Linked DNA regions of Homo sapiens: region 2 is linked to region 1. The links are contacts of gene promoters, found by promoter capture Hi-C in blood cells and fetal thymus (Javierre and others, 2016). All regions are on one chromosome and are shown on one strand. The core of a region is centred on a gene start or on the middle of the fragment in contact, and the rest is flanking DNA. Distances in the headings are between cores, read along the strand shown. Region 1 holds the start of LINC00899 (long intergenic non-protein coding RNA 899). Region 2 overlaps TRMU (tRNA mitochondrial 2-thiouridylase).

The links. The method cuts DNA at HindIII sites, captures the fragments that hold promoters and counts their contacts. A CHiCAGO score of 5 or more calls a contact.
Region 2: a contact is called between a fragment that was not itself captured here and the fragment with the promoter of LINC00899 in region 1, in 1 of 17 cell types (total CD4 T cells). The highest score is 5.1, in total CD4 T cells.

The regions. Positions count from the first base shown.
Region 1 is chr22:46,042,839-46,049,723 of GRCh38, reverse strand. It overlaps LINC00899 (long intergenic non-protein coding RNA 899), which reads left to right and starts at 4,856. Exons shown (of 4, transcript NR_027036.1): 1 at 4,856-5,115; 2 at 6,025-6,161. LOC124905135 (collagen alpha-1(III) chain-like) reads right to left here and starts at 5,080. Exons shown (of 2, transcript XM_047441696.1): 1 at 4,717-5,080. PRR34 (PRR34 long non-coding RNA) reads left to right here. Exons shown (of 2, transcript NR_165243.1): 2 at 1-1,193. The HindIII fragment of the contact is 16,362 bases long and covers 1-5,091 here.
Region 2 is chr22:46,335,986-46,342,500 of GRCh38, reverse strand. It overlaps TRMU (tRNA mitochondrial 2-thiouridylase), which reads right to left. Exons shown (of 11, transcript NM_018006.5): 2 at 4,557-4,722. Among named protein-coding and RNA genes, the nearest start is that of TRMU, 3.5 kb to the right of the region's middle. RefSeq lists a silencer at 6,340-6,389 and an enhancer at 6,198-6,515. The HindIII fragment of the contact is 870 bases long and covers 4,531-5,400 here.

The sequences.
Region 1 (6,885 bases), core at 3,607-6,106:
ACTTTGGGAGGCTGAGGTGGGTAGATCACAAGGTCAGGAGACCGAGACCATCCTGGCTAACACAGTGAAACCCTGTCTCTACTAAAAATACAAAAAATTAGCCGGGCATGGTGGCACGCACCTGTAGTCCCACCTACTTGGGAGGCTGAGGCAGGAGAATCACTTGAACCTGGGAGGCAGAGGTTTGCAGTGAACCGAGATCACGCCACTGCACTCCAGCCCTGGACGACAGTGAGACTCTATCTCAAAAAAAAAAAAAAAAAAAAAGTCAGATGCAATGCCAGGGCTGTGGTGTGGGACTGTCACTGCATGAGGCATGGGGGCTGAGGTACTTGGCCAAGGGGGTTTTTCAGAGACCACCCCAAGAGTCTTCTGGAGCCAAAATATCACCCCTAATGACTTAACTGGGAGCCCCACCACTAAAGCAGGGTTTCATCATGCTAGGAAGTAATCAGAAAAGTGCAGACAAATGTTCCTGGAAGTGTTGCCTACAATGGGGAAAACTGGAAATAACTGGGAAGAACCCAAGTGCCTGATAATAAGGGGTTAGTTAAGGACCTCTGTCCAGTGGAATATGCTAAATAGTCATGAAAGTTCATTTGCAAGACAGTATCTTCTGACTTAGGAAAATATTGTGATAAAATATTAATGAAACAAGCAGAAGATAAAATGATACACCTAATAAGATGCTAATTTTGCTTAAAATATGTTTTGACAGACTAGGTGTGGTGGCTCACACCTGTAACCCCAGCACTGTGGAAAGCTGAGGTGGGTGGGTCACCTGAGGTCAGGAGCTCGAGACCAGCCTGGCCAACATAGTGAAACCCCATCTCTACTAAAAATACAAGTTAGCTGGGGGTGGTGGTAGGCGCCTGTAGTCCCAGCCACTTGGGAGGCTGAGCCAGGAGAATCGCTTGGAGCCAGGTGAATCGCTTGAACCCAGGAAGCAGAGGTTGCAGTGAGCCGAGACTGCACCACTGCACTCCAGTCTGGGCGACACAACGAGACTCCATCTCAAAAAAAAAAAAAAAAAAGTTTTGACAGAAGCTGGGTGAGGCCTTCCCAGTGGCTATCTCTGAGTGTGCTTTCATAGGTGATTGACAAATGTTTTTCTTTTCTGAGGACTCAAAGTGTTCTAAAATGAGCATGGAACATCAATGATGGCATTAAAGAAAAAAAAAAAGAATGGCAAAGACGAGGAGTTGTACTCCTTCACTGAAGCTGCCTTTGGTCCCTCCCTGGGCCTCAGCATGCGGCACGAACACGTGTGAGGGGCAGGGCTGGCTTTGTGGGTTTGTGACCCATACCACCGCACAGGGCCCTGAGCTTAGGAAGGCCCTGCATTCGGAAGGGCCCCAAGCTCGTTTTAATTCACACCATCGTCACCACCTTGTAATTCTCAGGCATTTTCAAACCAGGGGGCCACATTTTCTTCTTACCCTGGGCCCTGCAAACTCTATAGCCGATCCTGGCGAGGAACCCTGGGCCTCCGGACACCTTGACTTTTCTCTCCAGTTTCCTGAATGCCGCAGCCAGCTTTCTGGGGTAGGTTTATTTCCCATGCAGTGACTCCTTATATTTTGTCCAGGGTTTCCAAAATCAGGGGCCCAAGGACATTAACCTCAAAAAATCAAAGCATATATTGGCTGTCCCCCGGGACAGTGGCTGCCTTGTTAGGAGGTGGGTGGGGTCACTGGCACAGCCCTGGCATTGCTAAATGGGCTGTTGGCAAAAAGAGGAAACAGGGCTCTGTTCTGTAAAAACATGCGTGAGCATTTGCAGTGCTTTTTCTGGAGACTGAAATCTTTCTGTACACCTCACCAAATTTTCAGAAGTTTCTTATGAGGTATGTGTTTTCTCCAGTAAAACCAGGTGCCTCTGACTCAGGGGCACTGCCTATGGACCTGTCCTACATCTCTTTCTACCAGTTAAGGCTCAAGGATGCCTGGGTGACTCTGTCCTACGGCTTCTGCAGCCACACTGCCAGATAGGTGGTGAGCTGCCTGTCTCTGGAGGCATTCAACAAAGGCTGCACAGGAAACACCTTCTCTGGCATTAGCCTAGAGAAGCTCACCTGAGGGTGTCACTGCACAGGGTATCTGGCAGCTTCTAAGGCAGGACCTTGTCGTCTTTTCTCTCTGTGCCCAGTACTCCATACAGGAGTATAGGTGTGGGGGAGGTGTTCAGTGACTGTTTCCTTTAGGGTACGGAAACAAGTGCCAGAAGGTGGTGAGGTAAGCGATGCAAAGTTGACATGAGATGTAGGAGAGAAATTCCTGAGCTGCCCAGAAGCAGGTGATGTGCGAGAGAAGCCAGCAGCCACGGGCCCCTGGAGCAGCAGCCGCTGATACTGAGTGCCTGCCGTGTGCTAGCGGAGTGATCGATGTTCACAGCGATTGTCACCGTTCTCCCAACAACGCAACTGATACAGAACTCTTTTTGTTTGTTTTGTTTGTTTGTTTGTTTGTTTGTTTTTTTGAGACAGAGTCTCGCTCTGTCACCCAGGCTGGAGTGCAGTGGCGCAATCTCGGCTTACTGCAACCTCCGCCTCCCGGGTTCAAGCAATTCTCCTGCCTCAGCCTCCTGAGTAGCTGGGACTACAGCTGTGTGCCACCACACCTAGCTAATTTTTGTATTTTTAGTAGAGACAGGGTTTCATCGTGTTGGCCAGGCTGGTCTGGAACTCCTGACCTCATGATCTGTCTGCCTCGGCCTCGCAAAGTGCTGGGATTACAGGTGTGAGCTACCACACCTGTCTGGCAGAACTCTTATTAAGCCCCTTTTATGAGTGAGGAAACTGAGGCCCAGAGAGGTGAGGTTACCCAGCTAGAATGAGGTAGCGCTGGCAGGTGGAGGCAGGCCTGCCTCAATGCAGAACTTCCCTATAAGCCCAGGATTTTTGGTATGCTGCGACTCTACTGCCTGGGACATGAAGAAAGTTCAAGTTCAGGTTCACTTTCTGCATCCTATCTTTCCTTCATTATACCCTGGGCGGGTATAGAAGGTCCCCCAGAGGGTTTGGGGATGGGGCAGGTCAGGTTCCTCATTTTAGGGAGATTTTAACTTTAAGTGGGCTCGAGCAAGTGTTAATTACCTGGACAGTTCATGCCTGTGGAGGCCGACCCTCCCTGTGGTGCTGGGTCCATGAGATACAGACTCTCCTGCCTCCCTGCTCCCCAGATCCCCGGGGTCTCCTGCTCAAATCTTGGGCTGGGGCCAGGGTCACTAAGAAATCTGCTTTCTTTGAACACTAACCAGTTCAGGCGTACACAGGAGTTGCAGTCTCGGGGTGGGGGCATGGGTTGGGTTCAACCCCAGAGTGTTTCCTCTGTCCTGCAATGTGCTCAAATTTTGGACATTTCATGTACAAATCTGGATTTCTTCTGAAGTCAGAAGCTCTAACAGCCTCAGCCCTTATCCTCATGGCAGCAACAGGCTAGAGCCAACTGGGCACTCTGTCCCCTGCCGTCACTGCAAACACCCTCTGTGCTCCAACTGACGCCTGTAGGCTGCCCTGTGACAGCCCTGCCAGAGAGTCCAGGGACATGGTGGGGTGACCCACTCAGATTCTGGCTGGCCAGCCCTCTCGGCTTGGGTGCTCCCCTGAGGAGGACTTTGGGAGCGTAGGCACCCAGGGATGGAGGCAAGTTAGCAATGCTCTCTGGAAGGCTGGGGACCTGGCCACCACTGGGAGTAAGACCTGACAGATGGTCCCTGCTGTGGTTGGGGGCACCTGATCAAACTGGGAGGCTTGTGGAGGCCCAGGCCCAGGACAGGTCTGTGAGTTTCCAGGGCTTTGCCACCGCCGACTGGTGGGGTAGGTTTCTATCCCAGGAGTGCCCCCCAGGGATCAGACCAGTCACAGGGACAGAGGCCTTGTCTCAGGCGGAGAGAGTGGCATGCAGAGAAGCTAGCTGGAGGTATGGGCTGGGCCTGTTGCAGACAGGAATAGGGGAGGCAGCAGGGTCCCTCACCTGCTCCCCAAGGAACAGGCTCTACAGGGCCCCAGCTTCTCCTCCTCCCCAGGCCCTGTCCATGGCTGTCCTGTGACCCAGCACCTGCCAGGCTCACTTGGCACTGTGGTTGCCCCAAGCAGAGCCGACAGGACAGTTGGTGGCCAGGGAGTCTTGCTCAGGATGGTCACCCAGGACGGTCAAGGGAAGTCACTCAGGATGGTGCTGGGGGTGTGGGGGGATCAGGAGCAACTTCCACCTGAGCCCCAGGACCGGAGCATTGCAGCGGCGAGGGGCTTGCCTCCTTGTGCTGTCGGGGGTCCCTCATCCCACAGGCCCTCACCTCCTGTGCTGCCCCTGGGCAGCCTGGCCTCGGAGGGTCAACACCTGAGGGCCCGAGGGGCATCCATGCCCCCTCCTCCTTCCCTCCAGCCAAAGGTGGGGGGCAAAGCGCAGGGAAGAAAACACCAGGAGAAAACCAGAGAGCTCTCGGTTCTCTTTTAAGAGCCCTGATGGCCGCAGCGCAGAGCCCGAGGGGAGGGAAAATGTCGGGAAAGATTCTCTTCCGAACTTTGCGAGTCTTTGTTTGGGAGGCTGGGGGCTGACTTCGCCGGGGGCCGGGCCGCGGGCTCGGCCGTGCGCTCCGGTGCAGCGGCCGAGGAGCCCCGGCGCCCGCCACCCCGGGACACGCCCTCGCAGTCGAGCCCGGACCCCGACCCGGACCCCAGCGCCGCCGGGCGAGGGCGGGAGGGGGAGCGCTTACCAGATCGTCCCGAGCGCGCCGCGGTCCAGGCGGGCACAGCGCAGGGTCAAGTTCACGTCCGGCCCGCGGGCTGCCCGAGGTCCCCGGGCGCGGCTGGGGCAGCGGGAGGCGCGGGAGGCCGAGGTCCGGGTGGCCGCCGCGGCCGCCCCCGAAGCGCTGCTGTCACCCCGGCCGCGCCCCCCAACTTTCTGCACAGTCGCGGAGCTGGAAGTTTCCGGGCTTCGCGGACACGCTGGGCTGGGTTTCAGTCGCGGCTCCGAGGTTGGCAACAAAGAGGGAAAGAAGGAGGAAAAGCAGGCCGGGGAGGGGAGGAAGAGAACCGCGCGGAGGCCGCGGCGCCGAGAGCCCCAGAACTTCCAATTCTACCCAGAAGCTTTTTTCGTCGTGTTTTTCTCTTAGGTAAACAAGCAAGTTCCACGCCCCAGTCCTGCTGGGGCCTTCGCCAGCCACCGCTCTGGGCTCATCTCCCGGCGCCTCCTCGGGGCACCTGAGCGTTTTAAGCCCCACTGCCAAGTGTTTTGGACACAGGTTTTTTTGCGGGGTGGTGAGGTTGGGCACAAGATGCTTCCTAAAAGGTTGTTGGCACGCAGACCATGGCCCCAGTGACGGAGCGGTAGGCAGGGGCTTGAGGAACACGCTGTCTTTGTCTCGTCCCCAAAGCACCCGGCCGTGGGTCACCCGTGATCCCTGGAGTGGAGGGACTGTTGTGACCCCTGGTGCTCCAGGAGAAGGGGTTCCATGCTGGGTCCCGGGCCCAGGCCCACGGTGCCCTCAGCCTGCAGTTCTCCACCTTGCGGAATGATTTGCTGGCCCGGCCCAGCTCCCCGGCACCACCATTTTCTGCCCTCTTTTCCCTGCCTGGCTTCAAACCCTCCCAGGCAAGGGTCCCGAGGAGACACCTGGGCTGGGGGAGGCAACTGAGTGGCCCCAGGCCTGGGAATCTGCAAAAGTGGCCAAGCCACATCTCTCGAGACTGCAAGGGCCCTGGAGGCGCTGGGAGGCACAGATCTGGCTGCCAGCTGGGCCTGAGGCCTCCCTTTGTCCGTCCTTCCTGTTCTTCCTCACCAGGTGTGTTTACGGAGAAGACACTCCGGGCCAGGCCAGCTCCTCCAGAGCACTATTTCAGGCTGGGGAGAATGCGGATTTTTTTTTTGTTGTTGTTTTTTAAAGAAAAATGAACAAGGAGCCTGGTTGGGGATTGGGGTGGGAGGAATATTTGTCTTTTGTCCCACAAACGTGTGTGATGCTCCAAAGGGCTGGAGAACCTCTCTCTTAAGTGGATATTTTTCCCCTCAAACGACTTCTCAGACATGATCCTCTCTGAGGTTGGTCCTGGGCTTCCATACGTGATTCATGGAAGAGGTCTCAGCCCCAAGAGCCCCTGAGGGTACTGTCCACTCCCCCTGGAAACTTCCAGAACCTGACGTGGGGCTGAAGACATAGAGGTAATGGGGATGGGCTGGTGGGGCGCTGGCTGGGACAATGTGTGGAGCCCTTGTTTTCAGAGCTACAGATGCTTGTCAGCTGACAGTTCGTTTCCAGCATCCACAGTGGACCTCCTTTGGGGGAGCATTTACCTGCCAATGAACCCCAAGATCCTTTCTCAGAGGCGGCGGGATGAAGTTTTCCTTTTTTTTTTTTTTAGTTAATATATTTTATTTAAACCAATATATCCAAAATATTATCAGTTCAACATACGATCAAGATAAAGATTAATGAGATACTTTACATTTTCATACTAAATCTTTTTTTAAATTTTTGTGAGTACATAGTAGGTATAAACATTTAGGGATGAAGTTTCTTACTGTGTTTTCCCAGTAACAAGCACTGGCATCAGCTGTCATGATTTCTCCCCAAGGCCTAGGATGGTCAGCCTCGCACGCTCCACAGCAGAGTGACTGAAGCTCTATCGAGGTGTGGCACGAGCGTGTTGTCATTTCAAGAGAATCTGCAGCCTCCCTGGTTTTTAATGAAAGCTCCTATGCAGGGCCTGGCCCTTTCCTGGGGAGGGAAGGCTGGCTGTGTCTCCCGCTGCATCCTCACTGGGAACTTCATTCCTGAGCTGCGACCGCTATTTTTTGGATTGGAAAATGCCTTGGGAACGGCTCATCTTCCTGCGGCTTGAGCCCATTTGTTTTCTGACTGGTGGTCACTGGTGATTAGAGTGTG
Region 2 (6,515 bases), core at 3,716-6,215, 290 kb before region 1:
ATATCCTGGGGGAAGGAATGGCGATGTCATGAAGCCTCCATAAAAACCCAGGAGTACTGGGTTCAGAGAGCTTCTGCACAGCTACACTTGTGGAGGCTCCTGGAGGGTGGTCCCCAGGGAGGGTGTGGACACTCCATGACCCTTTCCCCATACCTCACCCAACCCGTCTCTTCATCTGTATCCTTTGCAACATCCTTTATAATAAACTGGTAAATGTGTTTTTCTGAGTTCTGTGAACCACTCCAGCAAATTATTAATAATTGAACCCAAAGAGGAAGTTATGGGAATCCCAACTGGAAGCCAGTTGGTCATAAGTTCTAGAGGCCCATACTTTCGACTGCTGTTGTGGGGGGAGTCCGTCTGGGGGACTGAACCCCCAACCTTTGGGATCCAGCACTATCTCCAAGTAGATGGTATCGGAACTGAATCAGAGGACACCCAGTCGGTGTCCACTGCTTGCTGTATGGGGAAAACCCCCCACACCTTTGTCACAGAAGCCTTCTTCCGTGAGGATGACTGCCGTGATGAGAACAGAGGAGAAACACAGTCAGAGGCTTCCCTACACAAGGGCTCCATGAGCCATTCTGCAATCTCAGCCTGGAATGCTGCGTCACTGGGCAAATATACCAAAAATACTATCCTCAGGTGACAAACACACACTTCTGAGAACTAGCAAACTCTTGGGTGCTTAAAGTGGATCAGGCTATCCTAATTCAGTGAACTTCTGCTCTAACAGACTGACTGAACATGGGAAAAAGATGCCATGATACCAGCAAAACTTACCAAGAATTTCATAGTCTTCGAGGATTCACTTCAAGAGGGTTATGATGCCTATTTTGGGAGTTTAAAAATGGGTGTATTTTTGGTATAAGTGATTTTTTTCATTTAACCTAAAACTCTCTATTAATCAACAAGGGTTAAAAAAAAAACCAGTGCTGATCAAGAGGTTTGTGTTTTGCAGACATATCACAGATCTGCACAGGGTCAGAGGTTCCTTGGATATCTTCCACTTTAGCAGGCACCAAACTGTTTTCCTACTTCTCAGTCCCCCTAGAAGTTCATAAAAACTCATGTTTTTCCACATTTGCAACAACACTTGATATTATTACACTCTTTCCATTTTGCTTTAATTATTAGAAAGTTACCAGGAAGCTCATTAAACTATAAACTACTTAAGGTGCAATCTGTGTCTGTGTCCTAGACCCAACAAACTTTCTATATCACAGTCATCAATAAATGTTGAAGAGGCTGAACATTAAAATCAGTTTCTGAAAAGACACACTGTTAACCCTTTCGTAAACAGCAGATGGGAAGGCGTGTGTTTTGGCATTAGCAAAAACAATGGAGTAGCCCAGCCTCTTCTCTAACTGGAAAGAAGAGAAGCCTTTCATGTGCCTCGGGAGGGAGACAGATTTAAAAGACTCAGCAGCTAAAACGTATCTGGACTCTGATCCTTGAAGGCCAGTGGGTCTTGAATGAAAGAATGCAAAAGAAATCTCTGAGCTAGAGAGCCCTACTAGAGAAGTGAGTCTTCAGCGGAAAGACCAATGCCTCCACGGGCAGCTGGTACTGGGCGAGGGCAGAGGGCAGGCTGGCTGGAGCCAGGGGCGACCTCGGGGGCAGCCCCAGAGATGGGAAAAGACTCTACCCGGCCGCCTCCTTCTCTCAGTCCCTATCAAGCAGCGCCAGAAGGCGGCAGCAAGCACTGGCCTGGAAAGCTGGGTTTTAATCCCAGCTCCGCTCCTAATTCTGGGGTTTAATCCCAGCTCCGCTCCTAATTCTGGGGTTTAATCCCAGCTCCGCTCCTAATTCTGGGGTTTAATCCCAGCTCCGCTCCTAATTCTGGGGTTTAATCCCAGCTCCGCTCCTAATTCTGGGGTTTAATCCCAGCTCCGCTCCTAATTCTGGGGTTTAATCCCAGCTCCGCTCCTAATTCTGGGTTTTAATCCCAGCTCCGCTCCTAATTCTGGGGTTTAATCCCAGCTCCGCTCCTAATTTGCCATACTATTCAAGTCACTCTTCCTATCTGGCCTCAGCTGAGCTAAACTTCAAAAATCGCATCCACTCGTACGTTCTGAAAAAGCTGTGCTGGCAGGTGAAGTGTAAGCTCACTTGGATTCCCTGTTGTCCCCTCAAACTCTACAGTACTCATGAGGAATCCCCTAAACCAGCTTTCCCCAGCCACCCAGCCTTGATCTTGAAACTACTGCTGACTCCTCTCCTCTCTGGTCTCCCACACACATCAGTCCCTAAGCCGCATCACACCTTTTCTCAAAGAAAGACCCTGACAACCCCCCACACCACCAGCACAGCTGAAGTGCTTATTAAAGCAGATTCCAGGGCCGCCCCCAGACCTCGGTCCAGGTCTGTGTTTAACAAGCACCTCAGATCTACTGCCCGGTGGACTTGTCCTCTGGGTCCAACAAGCCAGCCCTCACCTTCCACTCCCACACTCCCTCCCCATGAAGTCCAAATCTCCAGCAACAGCACTTCCTGAGACTCTCTGCCTTTGGTCTTCCCCCAGATTTATCCTGTATTTGGCCGCCACACTCTTTTTTTTTTCTTATGTCCCCGAGAAAACTGCAGAAGTTTTTAATGCATTTATCATGCATTCTACAGATAAGTTTTTAATGCATTTATCATGCATTCTACAGGTAACTTTCCCCAGGAAAATTCAGCCATCAGTTTTGTCCATGTTGTTAATATATACGACACCCATATGTTATAGCATAGAGTCACAGAGGGTTCATATTCAAGCTCTTCCGTTGATTATTTAGGTGACCATAGTCAATTTACTTAATCTCTCTAAATTTCGTTTTATTGTTATTTCAATGGTTTTTTGGGCAACAGCTGGTATTTGGTCACATGGATAAGTTCTTCAGTGGTGACTTCTGAGATTTTGGTGTACCCGTCACCCAAGCAGTGGACATTGTACCCGATGTGTAGTCTTTTATCCCTCACCCCAGAGTCCATTATATCATTTTTATGCCTTTGCGTCCTCATAGCTTAGCTCCCCAGACTCATCTTTTTAATAATGAAAATAAAAATAGCAGGCTGGCGTGGTGGCTCACGCCTGTAATCCCAGCACTTTGGGAGGCTGAGACGAGTGGATCTTCTGAGGTCAGGAGTCTGAGACTAGCCCGGCCAACATGGCGAAACCCTGTCTCTACTAAAAATACAAAAATTATCCGGGCGTGGTGGTGCATGCCTATAATCCCAGCTACTTGGGAGGCTGAGGCATGAGAATCGCTTGAACCTGGGAGGCAGATGTTGCAGTGAGCCAAGATTGCGCCACTGCACTCCAGCCTGGGCAACAGAGCGAGGCTCTGTCTCAAAAAAAAATAGAAAAGAAAAACAGCTATGTTTATTGACTGCTTACTAATATACCAGGCATACATACTAGAACCTAATCTCAATTCTTTCATAACCCTGTGAGGCATCAGTGTTATCCTCATTTTAAAGATGAGAAAATTGGGGCTTAGAAAAGTCAAGTATCTCTTCTGGGTCTTTGTTGGCAGGAAAAAAAGAGAATTTTTTTCAATTAAAAAAACAAAGTCAAGTAAATTGCCCAAGGTCATATAATAAGCTACAGTCAGGACTCAACCCAAGGCTCTTCTGCCCCTAAAGCCCACTCAGGCAGGGGCAGCCTGTCCCGCGCACATGGCCTGCTGTGTCAGACGCCTTCGACAACTGCCCGACATTCATCACAGTCAGGGCTCACCAGAGGATGAGCCCTACACTCCTTCCACTGCAGGAACAAAAGTCCAGCCAAACTTTACAACGGTCCTGAAATACACAATCAGCATTTCTTCTCCCCTTCACGCTGCTCTCGTTACCCCATTTGGAGTCCCTTCTCTACAACTTTGTTTGCAACCCCTCCTCTCCGGTGAAGCCTTCTTGATTACTCCACACTGCAAGTTTCTCCCTCCTCTGGGTTCAGTGACTGATAGCATCACTGGTACTTCCTGCGTGCCACGCATCACTGTCACCTCTTGTGAAGATAATGTCCTCCCAACTAGACCGCAAACTCCTACAGAGCCAGGTCACAGTGAAGACATCTTAATGTTCCTAGATGTGGCACACGCCTAGCACACAGCACTTAATTATTGAGATTATATTGGATTTTAGAAAAGTTTTTGTTTGTTTCTTGTTTTCAGAGGCACAGGCCATGTATCACCTCTTTCTCAGAAATCCCCTAATCGCTGACCCACATAGCACACAGGCATTGGTGCTCACCTTCCAGGGGAGCCCTCAGCCTTAGCTCCCCTATCCTAACTGGGCAACAGAAACAGCTCAAGGTCCAAGAAAGCATTAAAGAGACTTCAGGCAAGTGGCAAAATGACAGGAGTGAGAGAGCTGGGTGTGCTGTGGGGTCCAGGCCTCGCCTCTAACACAGAGCCCCGAGGGTGGCTGAGGCCTCTTGCAGTCTTCAGCACCACCGTGGAGGGAGAGCGCTGGGCTGCAGCACAGGCGTCGGTCTGGCTGGTTACCGGATCCTTCCACTGCAAGGATCCACAGTGTGAGGAAGCTTCCTTTGTGCTGTGACCCGCACTCACCTGAACACATCATTCCAATACTCCTTTACGTAGGACACTTGATGGAAAGGGATGTCTAAGATCTGGCAAACTCTGTAAGCATCTTCACAGTCTTTGTCGGCAGTACAGACCCCATGTTCATCCAGTGAGTCCCAGTTCTTCATAAACACCCCTGTCACCTGGTAACCTGCGGGCGGGAAGGTCAATTAAAGAGAATACATAAATCAACCTTCGGTAAAACGGCAGTGATTTCTGAGCTCTGAGAAGTTCCCCACACGCTGTGCTCCTGTGCCTCTGTGCCTGGCCTGCCGGGCAGTCCCTGCTTTGCCATGTGGCTTCAGGGATCCGGTTTCCATCTTGGTGCCTGAGTCCCCAAGATTAACGAGGTGGTATTTTCTCATCTTTGTGTCCCCATCTATGTATCAGCACAATACCTAGCAGGAGGGGATCAGCCAGTGTGTGTGGAATACACGAAGGAATAGTCGAAACTCAACAAAATTTTTCAAAGCACCATTCAGTTATCAAAAAAGGAAACTCTTTTCAAAAGTTATTTCTAGTTACTATCTAAGACTTAGATTCTAAGTGATCAGATATAAAGATAATTAAAATTTTCGATATTTTGTAAGAGCTGTACCACCTAGTTTATGACCTATTTTCTACCTTTTCGATTGTAACAAAATATTCACCCAAATATTGGAAAGGCCAACTTTAGCCCTACACCACCTTAGCAAACTACACAGGTGCAGACCCTGTATGAGAAAGCTGGTTCGTTTAGGTAGGCTGAATGTAATGAAAGACAGGGCAAATGACTGCTGAAGAAGGCTTCATATAGTACCCAAAACAACAGAAATTTGATGACAAAGCTTTGTCAAAACTACACCACCACACGCGAAAGACCACCCCTATCCCAGATCAACCAGACTAATGTCTACCTAACAGTCTAAAGCCCCTGGTATAGCATCTTCCATAATCAGGGCTAAACGTGCTCCAGGCTCCTCTCCTTCCATCTCCATCTGGCCAGAACCAGCCCACACTTGCAGGCCTCTGTGATTCTGCTTGCACTGCTGACTGTGCCGGGAGGGCCGCCTCCACCTCCAAGTCTCTGCTTAGTGACATCCTACTCTTCTTTCGACTCAGCTGAGCACCTCCATCTCTAGGATGCTTTCCTCCACTCTCCCTTCCTCACAACTATTTCTGCTTATGGTCCGCCTACCCTTCTCTTTGGCACTTACTGTACCTACCATAATAGCTATGGTTATTAACAATATAAACTAATAGCCACTACTGTTTTCTGCGTACCTCGTATGTGCTGAGCACGTACTCATCAGTATGTACTATGTCATCTAATCCCTCCAGTCACCCCGTGAGGCAGGTGTTAGCCGAATTTTACAGGGGACGGCTTAATTCACTTGCCCAAGGTCAGGAGCCAAAGATGGCGCAAAGCAGAGCTCCACAAACGTGACTCTGTGAATGAGGCCTCCCGCGGGGAGCCACACAGGTGAAGTTAAACAAGTGCTCATTTCAGCGCCGGGCCCGAGGAATGCTAAGCACCCGTGGGGCTCCGTTTAGATGCCGGAAGAAATGCAAATGCTCCTGGAGAAAACTTTGTCCTCCAGCGAGCGGAGAACACAGGAGACGCTGAACAAGCAGACCCGCCGCGCGGCAGTTGTCCAGTCTGCTGAGTGGGGAGGACAAGGACCTCCCACCGGGCGGCCACAGCGTGTGCAGAGGTCAGGCCCCCGGCCCGGCGATCCCAGCTCCCCTCACCAGTGTCCACGGTCTCACAGGTGAATGTGGACGCCGCAGATCCGTGAGAAACCCTTCCCTCCCCACCCCACCCCGGCCCGCCGGCTTCTCACTGTGGGTGGGCGCGCGTGGGTGGAGAGGGGCGCGGAACTGCTCCCAGGTAGTCGGAGCTGCAGTCGCGCACACCTCCGACTACACAGGTGGAGGGCGAGGAGCCTCCGAACCAAAGTCAGA